Regions from separate parts of the Homo sapiens genome. Here region 2 is linked to region 1. The links are contacts of gene promoters, found by promoter capture Hi-C in blood cells and fetal thymus (Javierre and others, 2016). All regions are on one chromosome and are shown on one strand. Each heading gives the region's core, a stretch centred on a gene start or on the middle of the fragment in contact. The rest is flanking DNA. Distances are from core to core; before and after follow the strand shown.

Evidence for each region. The method cuts DNA at HindIII sites, captures the fragments that hold promoters and counts their contacts. A CHiCAGO score of 5 or more calls a contact.
Region 2: a contact is called between a fragment that was not itself captured here and the fragment with the promoter of GPAT3 in region 1, in 1 of 17 cell types (M2 macrophages). The highest score is 6.0, in M2 macrophages.

The regions. Positions count from the first base shown.
Region 1 is chr4:83,533,559-83,541,246 of GRCh38, reverse strand. GPAT3 (glycerol-3-phosphate acyltransferase 3) reads right to left here and starts at 5,139. Exons shown (of 12, transcript NM_032717.5): 1 at 4,484-5,139. The coding sequence starts at 4,624. The HindIII fragment of the contact is 15,854 bases long and covers 1-7,688 here.
Region 2 is chr4:84,507,779-84,515,466 of GRCh38, reverse strand. No RefSeq gene overlaps it. Among named protein-coding and RNA genes, the nearest start is that of NKX6-1, 12 kb to the right of the region's middle. The HindIII fragment of the contact is 1,055 bases long and covers 2,679-3,733 here.

The sequences.
Region 1 (7,688 bases), core at 3,890-6,389:
AAAAAAAAGATATGCAAAGTTTAAGTTTAAGGTTGAAAAAGCAGACATTTAGTGCCTAAGGGAATTTGCACTAGAAAACCCTTTTCTTCTACAGGTTGATGCCCGGTGAAAGTAAAAACATGCCTGTGCCTTGCAGCTAGATAGATATAGATTTGAATTGCAATTCTGCCACTTCCTGGCTGTAATCATCTCAGACATCAGACAAGAGACTTTAACGTCTTGGGGCATCCATTTCATCATCTCTAAAACAGGGACAAAGCCAGGCATGGTGGTTCATGCCTGTAATCCCAGCACTTTAGGAAGCCAAGGCGGGCAGATCGCTTGAGGACAAGAGTCGGAGACCAGCCTGACCAACATAGTGAAACCCCATCTCTATTGAAAATACAAAAATTAGCCAGGCATGGTGGCTCCTGCCTGTAATCCCAGCTACTTAGGAGGCTGAGGCAGGAGAATCACTTGAATCCGGGAGGGGGAGGTTGCAGTGAGCCAAGATTGTGCCACTGCACTCCATCCAGCCTGGGTGACAGAGCGAGGCTCTGTCTCACAAAAAGAAATAAAATAAAATAAAAATAAAACAGGGACAATACCAAGGGTGGCCATAAAGGCCAAAAGAGATAATGTAGCTGCTGCCTACCACACAGTAGGCCACAAAGTAGCCTCCTCTTCCCTATATTCCATATTTTAGGCCTCTGCAATGGCCAGTTTTTTCCAGACTGTCCAGTGCTTCTCCCCATAAATAGCTATTTCTCTTTTACCATGCCAGCTTCTCTAGCCAATCAGATCCACCCAAATACAAAGACAGAATATCTCTTTCAGATGTTCTGAATCTCTTACAGGGGTATCTCAGAACATATCTGTCTCAAGGCATCACAAAAGAGGCAGCTCTGTCAGCGAAATGGTCCTAAAGTACAAAAGTGGCTTCTAACAACCCACATTCTCTGCCCCCCAAGGAAAGTTGAAAGATACTTATCAACCAAGTTCTCTTTCCACCTAATTTCCAAATCCTCTTGGAGGGAAAAAGGTAGCTGTCCAAAATTCACCAAAAAGAAATGGCTTTAAGTCTGATTTCTTTTTTTTTTTTTTTTTTTTTTAGATGGAGTCTTGCTCTGTCACCCAGGCTAGAGCGCAGTGGCGTGATCTTGGCTCACTGTAGCCTCTGCCTCCCGGGTTCAAGTGATTCTCAGCCTCAGCCTCCTGAGCAGCTGGGATTACAGGTGCACACCACCATGCTTGGCTAATTTTTGTATTTTTAGTAGAGATGGGGTTTTACCATGTTGGCTAGGCCGGTCTCAAATTCCTAATCTCAAGTGATCCACCTGCCTCGGCTTCCCAAAGTGCTGGGATTACAGGCGTGAGCCACCGCACCTGGCCAAGTTTTACTCTTCATAATTTGTATTCCTAAAACAATTTTCTCGACTATAAAGCTGTAATATTAACATACGTATCCAACAAATTATCATATATCCCTTGAAAATCACTGGCTTGGAGAATCACTAAACTTATTCCAAGCTAAGTATTCAAGGCTTATCCTCAAGTATCTTGCCATATCAGTGACTTACGCATACATCTAGAGATACCCAGCAATGCAGAAGAAAATAGAAGTAGGTGCTCAATAAATGATAATTACTTGAACCAGTGGGTTAAGAAGGAGTCAGAGAAGAGCATAAAGTTCAGTGAGTTAACAAGTAACAATTACCAAAATCAGCAATTTAGAGGGTACCCTACACACATTTCAACTTCTAGAATTTGAGTTTATTGTCATGAGAAAGTCACCCATTGACAGTAAAACTTGTCAAAGTAAACATATAATAGACAAAACTAAATGATCTTTTTAAATGGTACATAAATTATAAGCAAAGAAACTTGAGAAATATCCAATTATGATCAGAGCCCAAAGAATATTCTTGGGAATGAAATGTAAAGAAAAATACAACTAAATCAATTAAGAATTTACCAAGGAGTGATACAAGGGCTAGGCCTTGAATGCAATCTACAGAAAGGCAGGGTATTTGGCCAGCACTGAAGATGTTCTAATGCTAAACATCAGCATAATCCCTTAAGGAATTATTCCTATAGTTGAGAAAAGCAATCCACCGTATTAACCCCAGTCTAACAGAAATGTCTTTGAAACATCTAACACTGTTCTAGTTGAAGGATAGAGGATCCTGGGTTACTGTTCTCCTGCACCTAAAGCAGAAATCACTATGGGATCACAGCTCTCTTTCCTGATGAGCTCAGATGCTCCCAAACATAGGAGTTCCAGGCAGCCGCAACCAACAAATCAGAGCTGGCTCACACAATGAATCTGTATTCAAATTCCACATATATCAAGCATCTCTTTGACCTAATAACTTAGTCTCAGCAGACAGGGTGGGTTCCTGATGTGTCACCTACCTGGTTTCCAAGTTATCTGGTTTCTCCCACCAGAATTAGAAAACTGGCATTCTTGTCAGTTTGATTGACAAGGAGTTCAGCTCTGGAGTTATCCAGAAGGACAAAAATTAAAATCTCTGGCCTGTCAAACTGAAAGTCAGATCCTGGACTGGAGATCATCCTATCAGGTATAATAATTTGCCAGGCTGACAGCAACTAGCTGGCCTCCGTCCTTAGCTGACCTTGAGTTACTAAAGAAAAACAGACAGAAGTGAGCCCCTGGAAGCCAGTGGGTGTGATTTACCTTTACACCATTCTTACACAGGGTATAAATTCCAAAAGACATTGCTGTATGAGAGAGCAGTTCAATCATTTCAGAGTTCAGAGAAAGAGGGAACACCAGCTGAAGAGGATCATCTGCTATGGGAGAGGATTCTGAAGATCTCACATTAGGAAGCAGTCAAGAAATTCACAGCATAATGTGACCAAGCTCAGAATGTAAAGTCAATAAGAAGAGTTCAAAACTGAGAAATAGCTCCCAAGTAGAAACAGTAGAACTTTAAAAACATGAGCACTGAGGATGAAGAATCACATACAACTTCAAAGTCTAGGCAAAGAAATAGCCACAAACAAGAGTCTAGGGCAATACAGGAGGCTAGCAAGTACAAGACAATGTCCAGTGGGTTAGAGATGTATACCTGGGAGCCACCCAATTAGCTGAGAAAGAAGAGCAGATAAAGCCACGTCCTAAGGGCAGAGAGAAAACAGGTCACAAAAATGGGAACCAAACTTATTAGAAGGCACTGTGGAATGCCAGAATCTCAGTAATCATATTATTCTTTTAATAGCAACAAGCATTCATACAGTAGGTGCAGGCAGCCTTCTAAGGTGCTTGATACCTTTTAACTCATTTGAACAACCCTATGGAAATAGGAGTTATTGTTACTCCTATTTTATAGATACAGAAAATGAGGCACAAGAGTAGATGACCTCCCTAAGGTCACATTTTGAGAAACAGAGCTACAATTTTGGTACCAAATCTAAGCAAACCTGTATCCAGGGTCCCTAATCCTAACCACTAGGCTGCAGGGCCTCTTCTCAGTTGAGATGCCTGTTTCTGGCCAGGCGTGGGGCTCACACCTTTAATCCCAGCACTTTGGGAGGTGACGGCAGGAAGATTGCTTGAGGCCAGGAGTTCAAGACCAGCCTAGCCAAGATAGCAAGACCCTGTCTCTTATGTTAAATATACACACACACACACACACACACACACACACACACATATTATACATATAATTAAATTTTTTTTTAAAAAAAGACTCCTGCTTCTAACACTTAATTCAAAGAAACCACTGATCTCTGACTCTCAGTTTCCCTCTCTGTAAAAGGGGGTTGGCACTTGCCCTCCCTACCCTACCCAGCCTTTTGACACTTAATAAAACCCTAAGAGTAAGCTGCAGTTGTTCTCTACCAGGCCTACTTCCATCTAACATTTTTCTTTGCAGGATTTGGAAACAGGAGGGTAGGGAGACCTGAGGTCAAAGAATATATACCTTTTCAATGGCATTTCAAGTGCTGTTGGTTAGATAAAATTTCCATGACTCCACTAAAATAAAATAAGATTTCTTTCTGCCATCCAGCAATTGGTCTCTTATCTTGGGCATAAAGAAGAACATGATGCCTTTCTGAACTGGATGCCTTAGTACACAAAAGGACCTCTGAAACCTGGGGCTGTAAAAACAAGCGGGTGAAGCGGAAACTGCACTGCATAATGGATATAAGCAAATCCTCTGATACAAAAAGTTGGTCGCATTGTTGTTATTCTAATCAGTAAAATAATAACGATGCTCAGGGAGTGGAATGATTTTTTCGCCTTCGACCAGAGAAACAACAGAGTGGTCCAGTGGTTCCAGCCTAGATCCCTCCAGCTCCGCGAAAGAAGCCGAGATGCTGACTTTCGCACTGCTGCGGGCAAGGAACAGAAATGCACGCACGCATGCACACGCGCGCACACACACCCCTGACTCGCGACCACTGACCTTGAGAACTGGACCCCCGGGTTCTCAGCCCGCAGCGGTGTGGGGCTGGCTGCATCCCTCCCGGCACTCACCTCTAAAGTTTTCACTAGGATCTTCATGTAGATCTCGGAGATGCCCAGAGACACTCCGAAGACCGAAGGTAAAAGGATGAAGCCGAGAACCAGCGTCAGCCAGGTGGAAAGGATCTTCCCGGCCAGCTCTGCGCCCTCCATGACTCGGCGCACCCACTCAGGAGAGGTCCGCAGTGGAGGGCCGAGCGCCACAGCAGTCCCTGTCCCCAGGCAGTCCCGCGGGAGCTCCAGGAGCAGAGCGCCGAGCCCGGCACTCACCTCTGCGAAGGGAAGAGAGGAAGGAAAAAAACTTTCAGAATTACGGCAATATCCTTCCTTCCTCCCTGGGCTCCTCCTCGCCCCTGCCAGTTAACTCTTTCTCCGCTGGCTGCCCAGGTCTGGGCTGAAGCCACCGCGGCGTGCGGAGACCTGGGTAGCGCGAGCCAGTGGTCGGAGCTGCGGGTAAGCGGAGGCACACCGCGGCGCGGGCAGAGCGCGCGAGCGCAGCCAGGAACCCGCCCCGCCCGGTGCCTGATTTCCTCTGGGTGGCGATTGCGACAACTCAGCAGATGACTCACGGAGGCCCTCCCCGAGCCAGGTTCCCTGCGGGAGCACCGCACTTTGGCACACCGGTCGCCGGCGGAGCTGGCACCGGGCCGCGGGCTGTGCTGGAAGCTGGCTGCGCTCGGGCGCCCAGCGCCCTATTTCTGCGCGCTGCCCTCGCCCCACCTCCTCCGTCACCCAACGGGGGAGCTCCCTGGCAGTACTTAGCCCAGGAGTGCCGCAGCCTCCTGGGCGGTCTCCGTTCTTCCCCGCGCCCCGCCTCCCCCAGCACTCAGCAAAGGTCCTTTCAGGAGGAGAGTTTTCATCTGAAAAATGTCAATATTTTCTTCACCCGCAGAATGAACTGCTGACGTATCTGGGACGCTTGAGGTCTTGTTTGTGTGGGTGTAAAACGAACTCTTGGAAAGGGCTTCCAAGGACAGGAAAACGCAGAGCGCACCACGCAGCCGTGTACGCCGCTTCTGGCTTCCACACCTCCTTCCCCACATGGCCTACAGCTGTGGGGCTCAATCTTGCTTATCCCGAGAGTAGGAAGCTCTCTCCACGCGTTGCCTAGCCCACTGAGCCGCCATCTCCCTGGCACAGAAACCCTGCGGCTAAGTATCTGTCACTCCCTTTCTGGGGGAAGATTCCAACCACACCTTCCCCTACCATTCAGCCAATACTATCCGCGCTTAGGCGTAGCAGAAATGCCAGGCCGGCGCAAGCCTTCATTCACCAAGCTGACAGGTGTCTCCTGGGTGTTCAGGCTCCGCGCTTCTACCGCGCCAGCCCTTATCAGAGCAACGAAGGGCAAAACCCTGTATGTTATTTACTACATTGCTGTTCTCTTAGAGACCAGAACTATTTTTAAGAATGAGCAGAAGGGATTTTGAGAAGGGATTTTCCAGATTGCCGCTGAATTCGACCAAAATCTCTTACAGGTACTTTTCAGGTGTTGTTTCAAGCTGGAAAAAAACTGAGAGGGCCAGCAAACTGAATTGAAACAGCGCTGATAGCAAATATTGCAGAGAAAATGGTCCCTGCCCAGGGTGTGGAGGAAGTGGGGAGCCAACGAAGTGACAAGCCCCTCTGTAAAGAATGTAGATGTCTGCCTTAAGTACTTACTGCCAGGTAGCTGTCACAAGCCCCCTCCCACACTAAGAACGGAAAAAATTATAACTTGATGATTAAAACCAGGTTATGGACCGGGCGCGGTGGCTCACGCCTGTAATCCCAGCACTCTGGGAGGCGAGGCGGGCAGATCATCTGAGGTTAGGAGTTCAACACCAGCCTGGCCAACATGGCGAAACCCCCGTCTCTACTAAAAATACAAAAAAATTAGCCCCGCGTGGTGTCGCACGCCTGTAGTCCCAGCTACTCAGGAGGCTGAGGCAGGAGAATCACTTGAACCCGGGAGGAGGAGGTTGCAGTGAGCCGAGATCGTGCCACTGCACTGCAGCCTGGGAGACAGAGTGAGACTCAGTCTAAAAAAAAAAAAAAAGGGTTATGAATGAAGAAGTGTTAGGAGCTTGGTTTCTCAAAATTAAACCTCTGTAAGGTTGGCTAGTTTAGAAAAACACGGAAAACGCAACTACCGAAAGCTGCCCAAAGTCCTTGCTTTCAAACACTATATATATTGAGTGCAAAACTTCAAATATTATATTGGCATATTTAACACCATATGTTCAGGCAAAACTCTTATTTTCCTTTTATTTCCTCAAACCAAGATAACTAAGGAAGGCTAAATCCTTGTACCAAAGTTTACCCCACAAGGGAGATAATACACACAACTTTGCGTGTGCTGAGTGCACACACTCTCCAGTGATTTTTGGTGCTCATGAACAAACTCCACAAAATGGTTTTGGTTTGGTTTTGTTTTAACTGTTACGGAAGAATTATTCGTCCACAGCTGTATGGTGCAATGGTAATAAAATGGAATTTGGAGTCTTCGATTGAGAGCAGCACGAACACATATAAGTTTGAGCAAGTGCTTCTGTGCTTCACCTTTCTCATCAGGAAGATGGGTTCTTCTCAGGGTTGAAAGTGATTGTGAGCATGAAACTGCATGGTAAATGACAAAGCTCTATGCAGAGATCAGCAGGCAGCCTGGTGCAAGGGCAAAAACTCTTCATCTTTTTCTTGCCTAAAAGGCAGGAGAGCCAACACAGGCTCCCCAGGGTAACAAAGGCTCATCTTTGCAGTGATGGAGGAGGGTGAGGGAAGAGAAGAAATGTAGGGTGATCCTGACCCTGTCTCAAGTCGGGGAAAGTTGGTCCCGACTTGCCGCTCTCCTTGTCTCTCTTTCACTCTCCTCACCTCTCCTCCCTCCTCCATTCCTTGAGACTTAAACCTAGGTAGGAACCTACTTTCTCCGTCCCTGAAGTCAAGACCCCCTTTACTTACTGTATTTGTTTCCTAGGGATGCCTTCACAAATCACCACAAATTTAAGGACTTAACACAACAGAAATTGATTCTCTCAGTTCTGGAGACCAGAAGTGTGAAATCAAGGTGTCTGTCTGTAAGGTCACACTCCCTCCAAAAACTGTAGAGGAGAATCTTCCAGCTTCTGGTGGATCCCAGCATTCTTTGGTTTGTGGCAGCACACACATCTCTGCCTCAGTCTTCACATGACCTTCCTGTCTCTTCTTCCCATCTTTTCTTTTACAAAGACACATTATT
Region 2 (7,688 bases), core at 1,957-4,456, 980 kb before region 1:
ATGTTTGTCCTGCCTGCTGTTATGTACACTAGCCTTTATTAAATTTTGTTCCATGGGTTCAGGAACCTTGCTGTGCTTCTTTTTTCCTACAATGCTTTTACTCTTACTTAAAATTCCATTTGTAGAACTAATTTATTCTAAGCCTAACTTTATGACATTAAAGTGAGTAACATGATATGAACTATATCTTATCTTTGTTAAAGGAAAATACTAGTTAGAAAAATATAGCTGTGTGGAAGCATACTATATTTCAAGTAATTGTGGCATTAGTCAGGGCTAAAAATATAAATCACATCACCCTCTGCTTGGCGAGTCTAGTAAGTGCTCCAGGTAAAATTTCCAGTGAGAGTTCGATACTTATTGACAGAGGAGGTAGGACTGGTCTTGGCTGTGCATTGTTTATGCCTGAATGATGCTTCGCTTCATTCAGAATTTAATCAAATTTGTGACTTGGCATCTGTAGTCATCTGGGTGACTGTATTTTTTTTGCATTTGAATCAACTGACAGGAAAATATATCTTTGTATGTAACTGGCAGTTTTTCTTAACTATAGAAAGGGGCACCCATTGCACTACTTTGCCAGTCAGGCTTCTGAAGCAAAGGTCACGACAAAGTGATATAAATGGGTGGTTCACAGTAGGCTGCTACGGTCACACAGAATGGATTAATCTGTTCCTTTTTATTACAAAAAAATTCTATGCATCATAATCAGTGTACTGTGTAAACATAGTACTCAGAATCTCTCTTCTGCAAGTAAACTATTTAGTGTCAATTAAGTATGGAGATTAAAGCAATGCAAGTCCATTATAGAGTTTTAATTTTATGTTACATCTTCTTTCCTGTTAATTGAATCTTAGTTAAGAATCAGAGTTTGCACATGAAAGGATATTAGGAATCTCAATCCTAAGTCACTATATATATTTTTTTTTGAGACTGAGTTTTGCTCTTGTTGCCCAGGCTGGAGTGCAATGGTGTGATCTTGGCTCACTGCAACCTCTGCCTTCTGGGTTCAAGCGATTCTCCTGCCTCAGCCTTCCAAAGTAGCTGGGATCACAGGCACGTGCCACCAAGCCTGGTTAATTTTTTGTATTTTTAGTAGAAACAGGGTTTCACCATGTTAGCCAGGCTGGTCTCGAACTCATGACCTCAGGTGATCCACTCGCCTTGGACTCCCAAAGTGCTGGGATTACAGGTGTGAGCCACTTTGCCCGGCCCCTAAGTCATTATTATACTACTAAGCTCTTTAGGTAAAACCAATAGGTGTTTTTGCTGAGTGATAGGTTTAAATATAACTCCTTTGTCACCAATTCTGAATTTAGGAAACAGCTTTACTTTGTAATCTGTATGGACATAATAAAAGTAAAAATAGAAACTGTATTTTAACTGGTGGAAGAGATGGTTATAGCCATAAGCCACTTAAAAAATATCTACCGCAAGGGCAGACTAACATCAACACATCTTCTGCAAAGCCTGAGATAAGGGGAGGCTGATGTAGAGAGTCTTTCTTTAGCAAGCCCCTGTCTCCACCCTAAAAGGATAGGAACCAGGTAGCAGGCCAATAAGAAAAAGAATTCAAAGATCAACCTCTTTGCTTTCACAGCATTGGCCACATTATTCACCATCCATGAATCAAACGAGACTCCAGGTTCCAGCTCAGGAAAAGTGATGCCAGGGACACTGCTGGAGTTACAGCCATTCAATCCTGTGAAAGTTTTTACAGGCAATTGGGTAGCTCCGCACTGCTGCTAAGTACCTCTTTTATTCACCTCTTCTTAATCTATTCACATATTTATCTTAACAATTTCTTGAATTTTTCTCCCTTTTCATGTTACAAACTCTTTCCTGAATCTTTCCATTGAATGCATGTTTCCCATTTACCTGATGAATTGCCTCAGCCCCTCTGTTCTCCTACCCTAAACATCTGTTTTTCTCTATACCTTGCCTCCATTCCTTCAACTCCAAGGAAAGGCTTACCTTGCCACCTATTCTCACCCTCCTGGATATTCAATCATCCTGTCTTTCTCCAGCATCTTCACCGTTTTTGTCTTCATTTTCTTCCTTTTGGCTTTCTACAAAAATGCACAAGAATATCCGGTCTAGAGGAAAACACACACGCACAGTCAAAAGTGAAGAGGCCCAACTTAGATGAAATTCTGTCTCACCCGCAGCTTTCTCTCTGATCAGAAGTTTTCTTCTGAATGAACTCCCATCCATAGTTCTTGTTGACTAGGCCACCAGCACGGTGCTTATGAGTTAATCATTGCCTTGTATTGCTAGTTATCTTCTTACCTGTAATGATCAAGCTATCGGTAGGCTCCTTCAAGAAGGGACCTAATAGTTTTTGTTATAACTCTCAGTGCCTAGCTGATTTGAGATCAAGACTATAGTCTATATTGATGTTCTGGATTATGTGGACATAGCAAATAAAAAAAGTTGCATTAAAAATATTAGAATAATTAAACAGAAGTAGATTTGTGATGTAGTGGCTAAACAATAATGCCAGTGAACCTCATAAGGAGCTTTCTACTGAAGATTCCCAGGTCCCTTCTCATACCAGGGCAGTTCTTTGTTCCCCTTTTTCCATAACTGCAGGCCCAAAGGAGTTAAGTTTATTTTCCTCTCTTCTTAGCAGTGGCCATTATCCATCCAATTTCTCAGTATCAGAGCCTCTCAAAGCTTGGGATGGACATAAGCTACTTCCATTTTTTGAAAGCTCCTGGTATATTAATGGATAAATGAATTTCAGAATAAGATTATAAGAATTATTTAGCAATTTAGCACTTTTAACATATGCATTGTTATTATTCATGGGATAATTAAAGGATTTATTAAAAATATTAATGTAGATCTTACACAGGCTATGTGGTTGGATCGTGGGACATGGGATTAAAATCAAATGGTGATTGTCTTTTTCTTTCCACTGGTCAGCGTATGTGATTATATGTGATTATGTGCATATTCTTTCTTGGAGACAACTTCCAAAGTGTAAATTTGAGGCCCTTTGTGTGTGGAAGCTCCAGGCCAAGTAGCTTCCCTGTACTGTGTTCCTGCTTCCTTCAGTACACACAGACACAGAGAGATACAGACACACAGACACACGGACACACATGCCAGGTGATAGGCTCTGCTTGGAGATAAGCTCTCCCCAAGACCGGCTCAAGTGGTAGGAAGTCTCGCAGGTATCACCCCTTTTTGCTGTTCCTAAATATAAGGGTATAGAACTACTAGGCTTTGAGGGAAAACAAAAAATGAGCATGCTTATGTTAGTAACTTTGGGAAACAAATAGAAACAAAGGTTTTCTATTTCTAGTTCCTTATATATACCTGCTAACTCCCTGAGCTGAAGTAGCCTCTGAAGGCTCTGTGATTCTGTTCTCCCTTTTATTAATCTGAGGTAAATCTTATCAAAGCAACTTGGTTACTCTTACTCAACCTTTTGTGAAGACCCCCTTGCTCCACCATGGTCCTTTCTCTCGGCCCTAAGAAGTTCAGTGTAGTCATAGGGCACTCCAGTACCCTGCTAGCATCATTGAAGCCTGCTCTCAGGTAAGGAGCTGCTAAACTCATTACACCTTGACTCACATAATTGATAAGGCATATTACTCAGCCTTTCCAGGGACTTTCCATTTTAACCAAAGACAAAGCCTTACTTTTAAAGAGAAATAATCTGTAAAGCACCATAGTGCTACGTAGAACGGAAACTACTGCTGTTAACTATTTAGGCTTTTAAGCTTCTGACTTTTCTGCTGTAAGGAATTTTAAATTTTGATATAGACAGAACTGGTTAGTGATAACTAGAGTTTCGCTTCTTGCTCCATGCCGTTAATGTACAGAAATGATGAAACAGAGCAAATTCATCTATCAGCTATGTAGAACAGTCTATGAAATATATTTATTTATAACAGAATGACCATAGTATTTAAGCATTCTTTTATAGAATACCTACTCCTTCAGGGAAAAAAAAACACCGTAGTATCACTGCTCAGAATTTTATTATAGTTTAGTATTATTGGCTTGCATTTTTGTAATTTTATAAGAAAATTTCCATTAAATATCTGATTCATTTTTTTGGCTCATGATAATGTCTAACAGCTATAACACCAGCACACCAGTGTCTGCATTAGACAAATATAAGACCAAGTATGATTAACCTATAAACTATTTTTAATTACCTTTTACTGTTCTTTAAAATAGTATGTTTTTGAGGAAGCAGAAGCAGAGTTGGAGTACCTTGATATTACAGAGCTTTATAGAGCAAGTATATGGACTTGGATTATTCATCATAATTTGCAAAGATTCTGCTCTACAGAATTTTTGCAGCAACATCTCAAATTTGTTGCTCTGGTGAATGTCATAATGAGGACATTTACAGTGTGAATTCTGGAGAAGACTGAAACATTTCAAATCTTTATAGCATTTTAATGTTCTGTTGTCCTTTTTGATAATCAGATCTTGATTAAGAGGTAGAATTAACACCCAGTAGGACATCAACATTTCTTGACTTGAATCCTCTGCGTATCTTTTGTCTTTAGGACAGTTGAGGAATGATTTATGGACTTTGTGACTCTGAAACAAAAAAAGTATCTAAAATGCGTATTTGTTATTTTCTACAAGCCAATTACATCTTGTTTAGAGTATGACACACAAGGTAAACCTGGAAGGAAAAATAATTAAAGTGCTGTCATTTTTTCACATTGCCTTATTATGATGTTTTAATTCATTCTTACTTTTATAGAGCAGTCATTCCCATGTCCTTCTCCTTTGGGGTCTATTCCCTTAGTTACCGGCAATTTGCCACTTCCTCTCCCAGCAAGTTTCCTTAGGTGAAGACAATAGTGACTCCTACCATATAGAACATTGCACACTTTATGGGGTGCTTACACTCATATTCTTGGTATTTTTCACAATCCCTAGTTTTTAAAAATAGTTTTATTGAGCTATATTTCATATGCCATAAAATTCTCCCATTCAAAGTACTCAGTTCAGGGTTTTTTAGCATATTCAGAGTTGTGCAACCATCACCACAATCTGATTTTAGAACATTTCAATATCCCCCAAAGAATCCCCATTCTCATTAGCAGTTACTCCCCATTTCTGCTCCCACACCACTCTGGCCCTGTCCCATTCCCAAGCAACCACTAATCTATGTTCTATCTCTATGAATTTACTTATTTTGGACATTTCACATAAATGAAATAATATACAGATTTTTGTGACTGGCTTCCTCACTTAGAGTATTGTTTTCAAGGTTCATGCATGTTGTAGCATGGATGAGTAATTATTCCTTTCTATTGATGAACAATATTCCATTGTGTGGATAGACCACATTTTATTTATTCATCAGCTGATGAGCCTTTGTATCGCTTCTAATTTTTGCTATTATAAATAACGCTGCTATCAACATTAACGTAAAAGTTTTTATGTAGACATATATTTTCATCTATATAAGGATGAGGAAAATCAGACTATGAGTGCTAGAATCTAGGCTTTCTAACTCCTAATATGGCACTCTTTCTACTCACTATAGTCCAGAAATTTTAGAGATACAAGTTATTTTTAAAAATCTAGTGTCACTCATTGTTTCTGTTTCTGGACTTGATTTGCATCCAATATGTGGGAACATATTTTGATTTTTTTCTCCAGATATTTTAAACACTTTTATATTTGCTCATATATCTCTTAATAACTCAGATTGCAGATAGACCACATTGCCATCCTTTTAGCAGGTCTCTAAAACCTGGTGACTTTAATATAATTTTTTAAAATAATAAATAATTCTGAAGGAATTCTGTGGAGAGTTCTTAGGGAATGAGCCACCCCTTGTTATGGGCCTTAGAAAGCTGAGCAGATGAATGCTGTGTGAATGACTTGGCTGTAATCAATCAACATAATGTAAACGATGTGAAATTAAAATTGAGTGCCTGAATGAGCGGTGATTACACTCATTCTGCACTACTCCAAGTACAGAAACAGTGTGCAGCTCTCAGGTAGCAACTTCCAAGAAAACAAGTCCTCTGGAAGTCCACCCACAGCAGCTGGTTGCCACTATTTTCATCTGTGCCCTTCTTCAGAGTCTGCGGGGCTTCCTCAGTGGTTTCCTTATTCTAGCCCCATAGTCTGCCTCATATTTACCTTTAAATTGCCTCTTTTTATGCACCATAAGAATGACCTAAATAAACTTCCTCTTTCACTCATCAGTATTTTTAAGGGAAAAATTAGGTCCGTCACGGTTGAATAACCTGCTGGCCCAAGTTCACACAATTCTGGGACTCCTTAATCCTAATACATGGTAATCTTAACCCAAGAGAGGCAAAAAAACCTGAGAACTGTGGCTGATTGCAAGACATGACATTTGCTTTCTAAGCAATCTGAACAATTTTATTTGTCTTTGGCTTAGACTCCTGAGGTGGGACTCTCAAGCGTGGCTTAGGGAACTCCAAAACTCTGTTCTTACCTTTGTGGCGGTTACTGTCCTATTCTGCCGATTTTGATACATTATTTCCATGTGTCTGATATCTAACTCTCCCATGGGGCTGGGCGGGATGCTTCTGGCTCCTCCCTTAGCCTGATCCTGTGGCGTCTGCTTCCATTATGCCTGCATTCTGCTTTTTTTTTTTTTCCTCCATCTGATTGAGGTGTGGGTGGTCAAGTACTACAAAATTGGATCCAGGAAATAGTGGGCTAACTCTTATGGAAAGAACTCAAATAGTTGGCACAACTAGAGGGAAATTTGAGGAAAGTGAATATTTTCAGGCAGAACTCATAGTTTCCGCCTCTATGAAGCAAGGCCCTTTCCTCACCTCTCCATCTATGTCAAGAGCATAGATTAGGCACTTAGCAAATACTAAAATGTATTTTTGTCTCATCCCTTCTCTTGCCAATATCACATTAATTTATTTCTTGATTAAATGCTTTCTTTCTACCTACAATGCTCTTCACTAGAGCCACAGTTGTCTTTCTATCTTTATGCAGATCCTCCTTCTCTTTTAAGACCCACTATAAGTGAGTCACCTTTTCCAGCAAAGTTTTATCTTCCAAGACCTACCCTTTAACAACACTGTACAATTCTGAATTCGTAACATTTTGTTTATGCTTTTCAATCACAAACTCTTCTAAATGATGCCTAATGATATCCTGACATTTCATATATTGCACCTAGTTTCTCCAATGGCAATAGAACTGCTCATGGCCAAGAGCTGTGCTTTCTATATCTGTGAAATTTCCACAATTGTACTGGGCACATGAAACGAAGTTACTAAGTGCCAAACACTTTCATTTAAACCTAATTTATAATCTGGAGTTGAAGTTTAATTGTAACTACATCTGCTTTATATGCAGCACACATACTTTCATTATCAGTCACCCATGCAAGATCAGGATCAAAAAGAAAATGCATGTGGGGTGGTGTCGACTGGTAGATGTTAGGCATTGACGGTGTGCCAGGTACTGAGCTGAGAACTGGGGATGCGAAGACGAATTAAGGTATGGTTCTGCTCCCAAAAAGGTTATAGTCTGGCAAGGGAGACAAATATGTAAGCAAATAAGTTCAATGTTGAAGAAACAGGACATTCTGGATCTAGAACAACACAAACAAAAGTGCAAAGAAGGGGCTGAGTATAGTGTGTGTGTGTGCACGTGTGTGTGTGCGTGTAAAATTGATAGCAGCTTAGAGGAAGGAAAGAATGGGC